Regions from separate parts of the Homo sapiens genome. Here region 1 is linked to region 2. The links are contacts of gene promoters, found by promoter capture Hi-C in blood cells and fetal thymus (Javierre and others, 2016). All regions are on one chromosome and are shown on one strand. Each heading gives the region's core, a stretch centred on a gene start or on the middle of the fragment in contact. The rest is flanking DNA. Distances are from core to core; before and after follow the strand shown.

Evidence for each region. Contacts are between HindIII fragments. The CHiCAGO score rates a contact against its expected background, and 5 or more counts as called.
Region 1: a contact is called between a fragment that was not itself captured here and the fragment with the promoter of GAD2 in region 2, in 1 of 17 cell types (non-activated CD4 T cells). The highest score is 5.8, in non-activated CD4 T cells.

The regions. Positions count from the first base shown.
Region 1 is chr10:27,599,406-27,606,751 of GRCh38, forward strand. No RefSeq gene overlaps it. Among named protein-coding and RNA genes, the nearest start is that of LINC02680, 37 kb to the left of the region's middle. RefSeq lists an enhancer at 1-404. The HindIII fragment of the contact is 1,988 bases long and covers 1,782-3,769 here.
Region 2 is chr10:26,211,485-26,218,866 of GRCh38, forward strand. It overlaps GAD2 (glutamate decarboxylase 2), which reads left to right and starts at 5,290. Exons shown (of 16, transcript NM_001134366.2): 1 at 5,290-5,401; 2 at 6,126-6,185; 3 at 6,358-6,507. The coding sequence starts at 5,326. MYO3A (myosin IIIA) reads left to right here. Exons shown (of 35, transcript NM_017433.5): 35 at 359-1,048. The coding sequence ends at 479. RefSeq lists enhancers at 2,304-2,871, 2,872-3,437, 3,438-4,004, 6,614-7,242. The HindIII fragment of the contact is 6,458 bases long and covers 985-7,382 here.

The sequences.
Region 1 (7,346 bases), core at 1,526-4,025, 1.4 Mb after region 2:
CCTCTAGGGGCACAGATGTGTGGATCTCCCACTGGGTCTTTTGGTGGGTAGGACTATTCCTGGACTATGGCTGAGAGGGGCTGAATTCTGTTCCTGGACTATAGCTGAGAGGGGCTGAAGCCAAGTTATAAGACTATTCCAGGATCTGTAGTTGGACCAAGGTGTGTGGGCCCACCTCCTAGGGTATGGACAGGTGTGTTTCCCAATAGGCAGGCACTGGGAAACTTCCAAACTGTGGCTGAAAGGGTCTGGAGCCTGGTCTTGGGCCTCTTCAAGGCTTATGATCAGGACTGAGGTCAGTGGGCCTATTACTCCAGGCATGAGCAGGCATGGCCCGTCCTGGGTCCTTTGGCAGATGGTGCCAGTGGCAGGACCAATTGGAGGTGTACCTGAGTCTACAGGAGGACAGAGATGCTAGGACCACAGTGATCCTGCCACCTGGGTGCTGGCCTGCCTTCTCAAAATGGCTCTCCTCAGTCTCAGGCTTCACTGAGCTTTTGTAACCTCCTACCTGGATCGAAAAACCCCCACAAGGGCACTTTTGTCCATGGATAGCAGCCAAAATATTGTTACTGTCGGGGGCTCCCAATGGCGGGCCCACCTATCCTGCCATCTTGCTTGCTGCCATCACTCCTCTATTTGTCTTTTTTTTTTTTTTTGAGACAGAGTCTTGCTCTGTCACCCAGGTTGGAGTGCAGTGGCATGATCTCGGCTCACTGAAATCTCCGCCTTCCAGGTTCAAGCGATTCTCGTGCCTCAGCCTCCCAAGTAGCTGGGATTACAGACACCCACCACCATGCCCAGCTAATTTTTGTATTTTTAGTAGAGATGGAGTTTCATCACATTGGCCAGGTTGGTTTTGAACACTTGACCTCAGGTGATCCTCCCGGCCTTGGCTGGGATTACAGGTGTGAGCCACCATGCCCTGCCTATTTATCTCTATTAATTGACATCTAGGTTGTTTCCATTTTCCTTTATCATAAGCATAACGCTTTTGTGCAATTTTTACTGTTCAACAAGGCCAGGCCAATTTACACTCACCAAGACTATATGAAAATACTCATTTTTTTTACACCCTTGATAATACCAGATGCTAGAAATCTTTTTAATTTTTACCAAATATATAGGCCCCAAACTGCATCTCCTTCTTTTAGTTTGAAAAAAATACATAAGTGAAATTGAGCACTTTTACATGTGTGTATTGAACTTATTTCACTTTTATTTCCTTTATTGTGAATTGATACTTTTTCCCCTCCCACCTTTCAGTGCCGTCTCTGGAAGTCCCATTAGGTCAATGTTAATGCAGACAGGGTGGGATGTTTAAAGCTCCAGTTTTCAAGAGCCAACATTACCCTGTGGCAGGTTACTGTGCTTAAACTGGTTTTATCCATAAATGGAACAATTTTACCCAGACAAGCAGCTGCACAATGTCTTTCAGGGCTGAGATTACCTAGTAAAATGGGGTGTGTGGGTCAGATGTGCCCGAGCGGTACAGCAAGTGTACAGGCTGCAGTGAGAAGGGCAACGATAAAGGCTGTTGGAGCATGACTTTGATTCTCACTAGAACAGGAGCCAGCAGGAAAGACTTAATGGTGGGATTAGACCTTCTCAGGCATTGGTAGGTGTAACAATATTGACTGTTCTTAAGCTGCAAGGAATCTGAGCTCTGCCTACTCTACAGAGCACTAGGGAGTGTCTAGGTTAATGTGGCTGCCAGGCCCTGATAGGCAGGACCAGAGCAGCTGCTCCAAATGTCATTTCTTTCCAGGGCCAAGGAGGCAAGCTTAGAGGGCTCAGCTTTGAACTTAAGTGCTTGCTCTCAGGCTGAAGAGTCATTCCCACCATGTAGTTTCCCGTTAGCTCTAGATTAGGGTTGCCATACTGAGCAAATAAAAATACAAGATGTCCAATTAAATTTGAATTTCAGATAAACAAAACAACAAGTTTTTAGGGCAAGTCTATCTCATGCAATATTTGGAATATGCTAAAAAGTAATGGTTGTTTATCTGAAACTTAGATTTAACTGAGTGGGCTGAGTCTTATCTGGCTGCTGTATACTAGGCTGATCATTTTACATACACAATCAATGTAACGTACCTTTAGATACCCAGGACCCAAACTGCATAGCATGTTGGATTGAGGAGCAGCCCGTGGTAGAAGAATTGGCCTTTGCAACGGCTCTAGCAGCCAAAACTTCATATTCATCAAGAGCAGCTTTGATCTTCCAGCTGAAATAAACATGGGGATTGAAAGAGAAACCATCCTTGGCAAGTCTCACAGGCTTCCATAGGAAGGCCACTGTAGCACAGCACCGGAATGTTTGTTCACACGAGAATGTTAAGTGGACTCTGGATGGAGTCACATTCAGTGAAACATTGGTTGCCAGAAACACAAGGCCCGAAAGGAAAATGAGAAATTAAGATGATTGCCTATTCTGGATGGGAAATGAAGATTCCTCAAATAAGACTCAGTGCCTGAGGCTGCACCATTGCAGAAATATTAGTAAGAACATAGCATTTTCAAAATGCTACTTTCTGATAGGAAGTACAGTATGTATACGTAGCTTTCTCCCCTAGGTACGTTCACGTATGGGCCAAAGTTAACTTCCTGATGGATGATTTCTTCCAAGGGAGTTTAAATTCCCAGGAAGTGGATTCAGGACAGCTGACATAGACTAATCAGTGTCCTGGTGAACTGTCCTTCCATTCTGTCCTTCCTTCAGACACCAGTGAGTTTTTGCTTTGGACTTTGGCAACAGTAAACACTGGGTTCTGGGAACATAATTTTATCTGGGATAATTGCACTTACGGTCTGCAAATTGGCTTACTTACTAAAGGCAGAGTGGGGAGAGCCAATGTTTTCATATTCTTGCTTTTCTAGGAACATATCGGACTTTTTAAAGGCAGGGCATATGAGAAACTAATTCAATTCCTATGACCCAGAATGAACTACAGCCTTCCAGAGGACAGCCTCGTCCACAGCTGCTGAGCAACCCTCACATTACCCAAGCACTGAGGACCCTCTAGTGATACTGAACAGAGTCAGATATTTAGGATGGGGATAAATATCAAACTTTAATTTCTTTGGATTTTAACTCACAAGGACAAAAACTTTTGGACTTAACTTAAGAATTTTGGATTCTAATCCCTGGGATTTAATCTTCAAATTTTAATTTCTCAGGAGGAAATGTATAATAGGAAGGGTTTTATGTTCAATTTTTTTTTTGAAATGGACTCTCACTTTGTCACCCAGGCTGGAGTGCAGTGGCACGATCTCGGCTCACTGCAGCAACCAACTCCTGGGTTCAAGTGACTGAATGCCTCAGTCTCCTGAGTAGCTGGGATTACAGGTGTGCGCCACCATGCCCTGCTAATTTTTGTATTTTTAGTAGAGATGGGGTTTCACCATGTTGGCCAGGCAGGTCTTGAACTCCTGACCTCAGGTTATCCACCTGCCATGGCCTCCCAAAGTGCTGGGATTACAAGCATGAGCCACTGCACCTGGCCTTTGTTCAAATTTGAACTTTTTCTATTTTTTCTATTGAATTTTTTCTATTGGAATTTTTTCTATTGAATTTAAATAATAAAATATTTGATATAATCATGTTACTGGAGTATCTTACTATTGTTGAAGAAGCTCTGATAATATGGCTCAATATAATTGGGTAGGAAATAGAATAGGGAATGAAATTTTCAGCCATGAGTATAGATTGGCCCAAAGAAAGAAACTGATGTATTTAAACTATTCCAGACCATAGTAAAGGACACAAAGCTTACTAATTAGTTTTATGAAGCTAGCATACTCTTAATATCAAAATCTGATATAAAGATAACAGATAAGGAGATATAGCTGGTTATCATTATTTGCAGTAGCTTTTTTTAAATAAGTCATTACAAATGCTGAATTAGCAATTATTGAACAATTGCTCCCAGGGGGTCCCTGCAAGCTTCTTGTAAGGATATTTTTGTCAACTGATAAATACCTAACCTTATTTCATGTGGGTTTCTGTTTGGAGATGCCTTATTTAATACGTATTTTTGATTCATTAACATTGAATTCATGCTAACTCATACCTATAACTTATGCCTGATCAAAGCTGATCTAACAGCAAAATCAGTAACAAAAAGCACAAAGGTACAAAAAACATGGCACTAAATCTACCACAAAAAGGACACTTGCTTACATTATGAAAGCTGAAACAAGAAGTTAGAGCATCACTTCGTTCAGCCTTATCCGAGAATGTGCCCAACAGGTGATTCACATGTTTTGCCACTCTACACGTGTCCTTGATTGACTGCAAAATGCAGTGCGTATTGATTTGGGGTTACAGATACATTTTAGCAAGCAGGTGAATTTGCAAATACAGAATCTTTGAGTAATAAGGATTGACTGTCTGGCACAATTTGTTTATATTATCAACATTACCCTAATTGTGGGGTAAGAACCCAAATGAAGGCACTTATAAGATATTTTTAAAAGGCATTTAAACAAGATGTGAAAAAGCAGAAACCTACTATGTTTCTGAAACAAGAAGACCACATAAGATGCAATGTCAATAAAAATTTCAATGGGTAATTTTTTAATAGACAAATTATTTTAAAGTTCTTATATAAAAATAGATATGCTATAATTGCTCAAGATTTTTAGAAAAGAAAAAGAATATTAAAACTTATTGTAAAAGTATTGTAAATAAAACAGTGTGGCACAGGCACAGGAATTAAAAAATAGAGAGTTTAGAAACAGATCCATGGAGACATACTATCACAATGGCATTTCAATTCACCAGAGGATGGGGTATCTGTTTTATATATGACATTGTCCCAAACTTCACACAACATACGTGAAAGTGAATTTAAGATAAGTGGGTTAAAGTTCTTGATATTTTTAACTGTAAATATTTTAAAAGAAAATTTGAGATATATTTTGTGACCTGAGGTGGTATAAGCCTTCAGGAAACCCAGAATCCACAAAGAGTTGATTATCTAAAAGTTAAAAACCTCTGTAAGTCAAAGGATGAAATAATGGAAAATGTCAAAAGACAAGTCTGGGAAAAAATACTTTTTAACATGTGTGAAAGAACAAGTGCTAATGTTATTCAGCTTCTACAAATTCATAAGAAGACAACCTGCTATGACAAAGGATGTGAATAGGAATTCACAGAGGAGAAAATGCATATGAAATGACGAATAATTATACAAGTATGCTCAACCTAAACACAGAAATGCAAATAAAAATCACAATAAGATCACTTTATGCACACCTGAATAGTAAAACAACAACAAAAAAAGAAAGAAGGAAAGGAAAGAAGCAGCAGCAACCAGTGCTTTTAGAAGCGTGGGAGGCCTGTAATCCCAGCACTTTGGGAGGCTGAGGCAGGTGACTCACGAGGTCAGGAGTTCAAGACCAGCCTGGCCAAAATGGTGAAACTCCGCCTCTACTAAAGATACAAAAATTAACCTGGCCTGGTGGCATGCACCTGTAATCCCAGCTACTCCAGAGGCTGAGGCAGAGAATTGCTGGAACCCAGCAGTTGGAGGTTGCAGTGAGCCAAGATTGCACCACTGCACTCCAGCCTGGAAGACAGAGTGAGACTCTGCCTCAAAAAAAAAAAAAAAAGAAACAAGCATAGGAAAACAGGCACTTGCATCTGCTGCTGGTGGAAATAAGCTTTATGAATACATTTTTAAAATAATATGACAATATTTATTAAAATTAAAAATATACATATTCGTACTCTTAACCTATCAACAATAATTGTAGGAATCTATCCTCCAGATATACATGTATACATATATACATATGTGTTTAAATTTATTTATGTTACTGCACTGTTTGTAATAGGAAAAAATGGAAACAACCCGAATGTCCGCCAATATGTAGTACAGCCACACCACGGAATAGTCCGCATCTATGAAAAAGAATGTCTGTAGACTTTATCTTTTAGTGCAGTGGCTTTTTTCCAAGATTATGCCCTTAAGACCTTGTGAGAGCTTGCTCTGAATTTCTGCTGGCTGAGCTTCAGATAGGATAGTTATAATGGAAAAAACTGTGTTTGTGATCTTGCATTTAGTAGCAAAACAGGTGTCCCTCTCTGGGGCCACCCACACTATCCTGCTTATGTACTTAACGGATTCACAGCTTTTTCTCCTCTTCCCCTGAGAGGCAGAGGAAATAGCATCATCCTTCCCCAAACCGTTTTGGGTTTCACCAGCCCCTGTGTGCATCGCTCCTGACCCTTAGAAATATGACCACTTGGGTGGAGCCACGTTAAAGAGTTTTTTTTTTTTTTTTTTTAATGATTTAAGAAAACACTTGGACTGGGGTAGGTAGAGATAAAAACAAACACAGTATGGGTTTTTCAATAACATCTTGAAATTATAACTCAGTGAAATATTGTCTTTGAGCCAGTAATGAAACCCACATTGCACCAGTGGCCTTGATGTTGAGTGTGCAGGGCAGGGAAGGGGAGGTGTAGGGGCGGGGGCAGCTGTATTTACTGTCCCTTGCCTCTGTGCTACTCATTAAGTGCTTGTTCATTTTTGAATTTGAAGATACCTTCTGAAGCCCTCATTGCTTATGTGACATTTATCTTGGGAAGAACTGGATGAGAAATTCAAAGAATGTTTGACTGTATGTCCCATGCCTGCCACTGCCACCTGGGTAGCCCGAATAACTTCGGGTGACCCTGGCTCTGGCTTCGCTCTCCCTGGTTTGGGTTGGTGAGAATTCCCCGCTGAGCCTGAACTGTTAAAACCAGCCCAATGGAACAGCAGTCCTATAAATGGGTGGAGGTGCACAGAGCCCAAAGGAAATCAGAAATCTTAGAAATAGCAGATTTCTAGGCTGGTTAAGACTTTAGAGGAGATTTTTTTTTTCATTTTGTTTTTTTCTTTTTAAAAAAGTTCCACCCCCCCAACCCATAGACTGAAAGGAAATATGAATTCAAGAAAGACTTACTTTAAGCTCCTGACAGTTGCTATAGGACTGGCTGCCCATCAGCCAGTGCTTCTCAGAGTGTGGTCTGTGGACGAGTTGCACCACGTTGCAATCAGAAGATGTTAAAAATGCAGACTTTGCAAAGGCTCCAATTCAGTAGGTCTGGAATGGGATCCAGAAATCTGGGTTTTAAAGGCTTCCAGGTGATGTGTACATTCTCTTAAACGTAGGAACCACTAGACTCAATCTACCCCAGATACGTCTTCTCAGTGCCAATGAGACAGGCAGGCAGGCAGGCACATCCAAAATTGTTAGACAGCTGAGATTTGGACCTTGAGCTTCTAAGCCATCCAAGACATTTTCACTGAAAGGCAAAGCCGTTCTTCCTGATTGTTTGAAGGACTGCGACT
Region 2 (7,382 bases), core at 4,040-6,539:
ACCAAAGTGTGTTAAAATTAAGGTATTAAAATAAATATTTGTTTATTGGTTGTGAATTATTGCAATCCAAACTCACCTTTCCAAACTGCACCTTCTGAAGCTTTAGTTAGCACGTATCTAAACACCATTACCAGGCTCCACCAGCCCCTCTGCTCCTCAGCTTAGAGGAGTTTTTAAAACCTGTTGAGAATTATCGCAGATACGTTTGGCCATTATCCAGTCGTTTCGATTGTGCCTTTCCTAAATGTCCGCGGTTGGCAGAACGTGGGAGGAAGAGGACCCGCCTAACTCGGGGTAGGTGGGGACGCGCTGCTCACTGTGGTGAGGTTGACACTTGGGCCCTGGGTTTCACTTGCAGGTGCTGGGCGGCGGAGAGCCCCGAGAAGGAGGAGGAGAGAGAGCCAGCAGCCAACCCCTACGACTTCAGGAGGCTCCTGCGCAAAACCTCCCAGCGCCGGCGCCTCGTCCAGCAGTCCTAACCGTTCAACGAGGCAGTCACCGCCGTCGGAAGGCGCTGGAGCCTGCGGGGCAGCAGGGGCCAAGCAGGCACTCTGGGGCTGGCACCAGCAGGCACTGAAGCTGCGGCCCTGATCTCCGCAGAGGCTGCCTGCTGCGCTCGGCCCTCAAGTGCCCGGGCCGGCCTTCGTGCTCCGAAACAAGAGACCTGGGAGCCCTCGGGAAACCTCCCCCGACGCTCTCTCTCGGAACTCCCGCACCCTCCTTTCTCACCAGCCCGCCAGTTGTGGCAACCCTGTCCTTGTTCCCCTAATCTATCACTTTGTTCTTTTTTTTTGTGACTCCTGTGGACTCCACTGCGCCTGGGATCTCGCCAACCCCTCTCTCATTTGGGGTGACTGAATTCACAGATTTTTTTTTTTATTGGAAACGGCTTTTCTTGGCCAACAGAACACTTGCTAGCGGTTGAATCTTAGAGAAAAAAGCCCGGGAGGGGTGGGGAGAATTTCGAAGATGTATTTCATCTCAAGCTTGCTCTTTCTCTTCCTTTGGTTATTAAGGTCACTAAATAAAGGAAGTGCCTTGGAAAACCCGTGGTTTGCGTGACTGATCCCTCATTTTCCCCTCTAGGGCTTCTGAGGGGCTTCTGCTATAAGGCTGTGCTGGTGACGGGCCCAAGGAGGGGCGTTGAGGTGCCTTCATCAGCGAACTCCCAGCACCACCCAGCCACTTCAGACAAACACAATCTAAGCTAAAACCCCTTGCCACACAAACGCAGAGGCCTCCAATGTCTAAATCCCCAACACACCACACGTGCTCGCCTGCACGATGCCTTCCCAATCTGCGTGACTGTCTTTGGCCCCATCTATAAAGATGCTAGTGCCCCCACTGGGTGGAACTGTCAGATTTCAGGTTCTCCCGGTCTGCAGATTTGGGGCCATCTTTGCTACTCCGACTTTGTGTGTATTTAAAATGGGGGAGGCTAGTGGGTGGACAGAAGTTTGCATTCCTGGGTTGACTGCACCTTATTCTAAAACCCGGTTTAAGCTGTTTTATGAAACTGACATTCCCATCTAAGCAACCTGGAGAGGGTGAGGACAGGTGATGAGGTCGTTGCATGGAATTGGAAGAAGGGTTCTGATCACGATGGGGCTCACCCCTTGTGTGGGTGCCCTTGGCTCCTGCACCCACAAGCCGGAGTCAAAAGACTCTGGGGAAATATTCGAGGAGTGAGTGAGGGCATGTGCAGAGGGCTCAGAGCGTTTGTTGCGCCGCTGGTCCACAGGGCATAGTAATCTCGCCAACTCAAAGAGTTGGCACCAAAAGGTCCCCAGAGCCAACTCGTGTAATCTCTTCATTTTACAGATGCAATGTGGCCAAGGGAAAACCTGCAGCTATGGCATGGCAGAGTCCAAGTGCCCTCCAGGCCTTCTTTTTCCCTGGGTTAGCGGCACAGTCTTGCTGGGGTTGCGACTGAAAGTAAGGAGTAACCCTCAGCTGTGCGAATGCACTGAGGAGCTGAGTATGGCCCAGTACCCAGGAAACCAGCACAGCAGGTCACCAGAGAGAGGGGCTTGGGAGGGGCAGGGGTGTCTAAAGCCCAAAGTGGCCTGGCCCCCTTCCACCTCTAGCTGCCTGTCCACTTGCCTCCAGAAGGCCTGGGTTTGTGGGGAGGGCGGAGCAGGGGCCAGGGGTAAGGAGCAGTAAGCTAAGCTCAGCTTTTCTGCCTGGCCACCCTTCAATCTAGGCGTCCTTCTTGGGTGGCCCCTGAAGACAAGAGCCCTGGCACTCAGCCCCTTCTGTTATTTCTGTTGGTGTAGGGAGAATTTATGGAGGGAGGCAACAGACTCCCTCCCTAAATTTTTCCTGCACCAATGTTTTAAGTGAGAATAGAAAAGAGAATGGCAAAGGCTTGGTGAATGCTTGGTTGCAATATTTTTGTGTTCTTCCGTGGTTGTTTCCTCTTTTTCTTTCCATCTTCCCTTCTTTCTCTGTCCTTTGACATTTAAGCACGGGAAGGACACAGGAAAATGTGTGCCAGACACTCTTCTTTGGGTCAGCCTGAGACCCATATGTTGGTAAACCAGACACCTAAGGAAACTGTCCCTACAAGTCGGAGGATTGGGTCTCTCGCCCCTCATCTGAGGAAGGGCCTTCCAAAGCGGCCGCCTTCCCTTCCCATTCACTGGCTGCCTCCTTTGTGAACTAATGACTGTAATTATTACCTCCCAGAGCTCTTTTGTTATCTCCAACCCCAAGCCCCGGAGAGGGGGAATGGGCTCTTTAGTGAAATGAAAGTCATTACAAAGCAAATTACCGTCTAGGGAGGGACAGCCTTCAGGAAAGACAAATCAGATCTCCATCTGCATCTGAAGTAGGGTGTGTTTAAATAAAAAATGTAAATATCACCATTAGATCCAAAGTACTCCAGAGCTGTGGGATTTAATGGAGTTTAAACGGTAGCACTTGAAGCCATTGCTTTACCAAAAAGAAAAAAAAATCAGTTAAATTCAGGTGTTTTAATCCGTTTCTTCTTTGGGGGTTTTGTGTGATTTAAACGCTTGCTTTTAAGAACCTTTATGTTTTCAACCACTCATCCATAGTAGAAAAGTTCTGCAACCCTAGACTGCTGGCTTGAAGGAAAACCTTTGCAGGATTTGATATGGATTTCAACAAAGAACCAGCCTCTGCGAGGCTGGAGAGAGCTGCGGAGCTGCCATGCCTGAAGTGCAGATGGCTGAACCACAAGTCTTTAGGTTTCCGGAGTTGTTATTGTGGTGACCTAGAGTGTCAGAGCCAGGAGAGCAAGAAAGAGGAGCCAAACTGAGCCCTGAGTTTTCGACCACCCGGGCTCCCACAGCCTGGAACAGACTTCACCTAGCACGCTCAGTGCCAGCCTTCGGCAGGACGCTATCAACGCCCGACTGGTTTCCTGCTCTCATCCTGGCGCCTGGGCCCAGTTGCCATAGTGTGGATCCCATGACTCCTCAGGGAACCCCTGGACTCAGGCACGCGAGAAGAAGACAGCGCTTTGTGGAGAGAATTGACCAGGGACAGTTATGCTCGAGCACACAGGACTTGGGCCTGTATGCGTCCAGCATGGGCCCCAGGATGTCCCTTCTAAGCGAGGGTCGAGGGGTGCTCGCCCAGACGGGATCCCCGGGTCTCTGCTTTGTTAGCAGCTTTGGTGGCTGGTTCAGGAGGTCAGAGAAATAAAACGACTTGTGAACACAATGGAAATGACAGGCGCTCTGGCCAGGCGCGGGGAAGGCAGCCGCCTCGGGAAGCCGACCTCAGCCCTTTCCTCTCTCTCCCTCCCTCCGTCTCCCCCAGAGCCCCGGAGCTCCGAGGTGCACTTGAAGTTCATCTCCACTGCCAGGAGAACGCAGCGCAAACTGTCAAAGGGCTCCCAATCCTTAGGGCGTCCTCCCTGTCTGCAATAGCTTTTTGTAGAAAGGAAATCATCAGAACGATTCTGACTTTCTCCTCCTTTCTTTATTAGAAAAAGAGAAACCGCCTCCTAATACGCCTCAGAGAGAACCAATCTCGCGCTTCCGGGTCACCCGCTACCGCGAAGATTCTCTGGGGGCGAGGGGGGGCATTGGTTTGAAGCCCCTTAAAACGAGGGCCCTGCAGGCGATGCCTTCTTTCCTACTCGGATTTGTAAAGCCGAGATTGCTTAGTTGGAAACCCTGTTCTCCCCTCCCAGGCGCACACAGATCCCCCTTACACGCAAGCAGCGGGCGCTTCCACGCCTCCGCGGGCCAAGGTCACCAAATGCCCTGATTCCATCCCCCACCCGCCATCAATCCTGCCGACTCTGGCCGCTCTGCCTCATTCTCTTCCAAGAAGTTTCCATTCGTTTTATTTTTTTTTCCCCAGCCCGAGGTCCTCAGTAGACTCCAGCGTGGATTTTAATTGCCTCAATCAGCAGTCATTCTCCCCAGCCGTCACTCAGAGCCTGGACGGTGGGTCCCGCGATCTAGCCCTTGGCTACGCAGGAACGGTGCGCCCCCGGGTACGGCGCGGTTCAGCAGGCAGGCGTCAGGTTCTACCAAGGCGCTGAAATGAGCCCATCAGCGGGTAGGAGCCCTTCCCCCGCCGTCCCCTCCCCAGGCTCGTGAACGGCGCCTGATGCCCGCCCGGGGCGCGAGCTCTCGAGGTCGCAGTGACCTCAGCACCTGCTTGGAGGAAAACGGCGCGGGAACCCCGCTTCCTTCCCCTCAGCTGGAGCCAGACCTCAAACAAAACCCCAATCGATGCACACAGAAAACTCCTCTGGGCCACGCTTCCCGCCTCGCCGAGGTCTCCCCAGTCTGCCCCTCGCTGACGCTGGCGCGCAGCGGCTGTGGCAGCACCCGGGACAGCGGCCGCCCGCACTTCCCGCCTCTGGCTCGCCCGAGGACGCGCTGGCACGCCTCCCACCCCCTCACTCTGACTCCAGCTGGCGTGCATGGTCTGCCTCGCATCCTCACGACTCAGCTCCCTCCCTCTCTCGTGTTTTTTTCCTCCGCCGCCCCCTCATTCATCCCCACTGGGCTCCCTTTCCCTCAAATGCTCTGGGGCTCTCCGCGCTTTCCTGAGTCCGGGCTCCGAGGACCCTTAGGTAGTCCCGGTCTCTTTTAAAGCTCCCCGGCTTCCAAAGGGTTGCCACGTCCCTAAACCCTGTCTCCAGCTCGCATACACACACGCACAGACACGCACGTTTTCTGTTCCTGCGTGACACCCGCCCTCGCCGCTCGGCCCCGCCGGTCCCCGCGCGGTGCCCTCCTCCCGCCACACGGGCACGCACGCGCGCGCAGGGCCAAGCCCGAGGCAGCTCGCCCGCAGCTCGCACTCGCAGGCGACCTGCTCCAGTCTCCAAAGCCGATGGCATCTCCGGGCTCTGGCTTTTGGTCTTTCGGGTCGGAAGATGGCTCTGGGGATTCCGAGAATCCCGGCACAGGTAGGAAGGAGAACGGGGGCCTGCGGCGGGCGAGTTTTGCGGTGGTCTGGGGTTTGCGGAACTACGGAGAAGACGAAGGAGGTTTTTCCACCTGCAACAGGAAACTTCTTCGGGCGCTTCTCCCTGCTTTTGGGCTAAGTCCTTGACGGCCCAAGAGCTCAAGACCTCTACAGCCTCTTGTACCCTGGGAAGACGCCCAAATAGTCTCAGGCCCGTTCCACAGAAGGTTGGAAGAGCCCCCCAAAGACCGCGGTGTCTCGGGGACATGGAATTCCGTGGTCCTGGGGCGCTGCTAAGATCCGGGTGTCTGGACCCTGGGGTGGGACGGAGTGACCGTGAAGATAGAAAAAAAAAATGGGAAAGGTGAGAGATTTCTTTATCTAGAAAGACAGTCTGCGAAAAAATGGATAGCTTCAGTGTTTAGGAAAACTCGTCCAAGGTAGGCAGGGAGAGGAATTTGCCTGAGCCGATTGGCACCTGGAAGGGCAGCGGTGTGGGCTTCTCCTCGGGAAACAGATAAAGGAAATGAGGGCTGGCCCGGGCCGCCAGCCTCCCGCTTGCCTTCTGCACCTGCCGGCCTCACCGAGTCCTGAGCGGCCCCCAGGAGGAAGGCGGCCCCTCCTAGGACCCCGGACTGATTGATTTTCACATAGAACGAAATTTCACACGTCCGTCTGTTGTTCTCTTTCTGCCTCGCTGTCTGCCTGCCTATTCTTCCTTGCAGCGCGAGCCTGGTGCCAAGTGGCTCAGAAGTTCACGGGCGGCATCGGAAACAAACTGTGCGGTGAGTGCCCAGGGACCGGGGCGGCCAAGGTCGGCCCGCGGGGTCCAAGCAGTCTTCTCACCTCCGCATCCCAGTCAGCGGAGTCGGGGTTTCCTGGCTGCGGGTAGGCGGGAGCGAGGGAGCCGGGCCCGGCGGAGGATTGACGAGGCCCGCGTTCGGTGTCCTTACCCAGCCCTGCTCTACGGAGACGCCGAGAAGCCGGCGGAGAGCGGCGGGAGCCAACCCCCGCGGGCCGCCGCCCGGAAGGCCGCCTGCGCCTGCGACCAGAAGCCCTGCAGCTGCTCCAAAGTGGATGTCAACTACGCGTTTCTCCATGCAACAGGTAAAGACTCAGCGGGGAGCCCCGGGGCGCCCCTGCCCCTCTCTCTGCCCCGCCCACCGCGGCCGGTGCGGGTCCGGCGCTGAGAGCCGGACAGGGGCGTCGAGGTGGCAGCGGAGGCGGGACCTGCCAGAATCTTCAGATAAAAGCGAGAAATGCGGGACCTGCCCGCTGGGTCCAAGCCCCCGAACCTGGCCTCGGAGCTCCAAGAGGGCTCTGAGGCCGTGGCGCTCTTCCCCCAGCGCGGCCCTTGGGATGGCGGGTGGCCGACGATCCAGGCGCTCGTGCGCTCACTGAATCGATGACGGCTGGCTTCCCTAGGCCGCTGGGGCCTCGGGTGGGACTCAGTTTCCAAATACCGTGCCCGAGAATTCAGAATTGCATTTTTTTTAGGTCTTTAGATCACGAGAGTGATTTGTAGCTGCAATTGCACAAGAGAACGATTCCATTCACATGAAACCCGCGCGCCGAGTTTTACCCCCGTGCACTTACACACCGTCTCCCAAATGTACGCGCGCACACACACATGCAGACACACATGCATACGCTCTCTCTCTCTCTCTCACACACACACACACACACACACACACACACACACACTGACTTTAGAAACAGCGGGCCTTCCTATCAGACCAGAGATCCTAATGCACCTGTTCCACTTTGGTTTGCCCGAAGGCATTCGAGACAAACACTTCTGACGTGAAATATTTATGTAAACATGTAAGATGGTTTACTGAGAAACACGTTTAAGACGAACTCCTGTGAACTAGATAAACGGAGGTACACGCTCTTCAAAAAAAGAAGGCAAACAATATAAGTTATGAATTGAAATGCAGTAATTAATTTGGGGAAGAGAAGAAATCATAATTTATCTCATT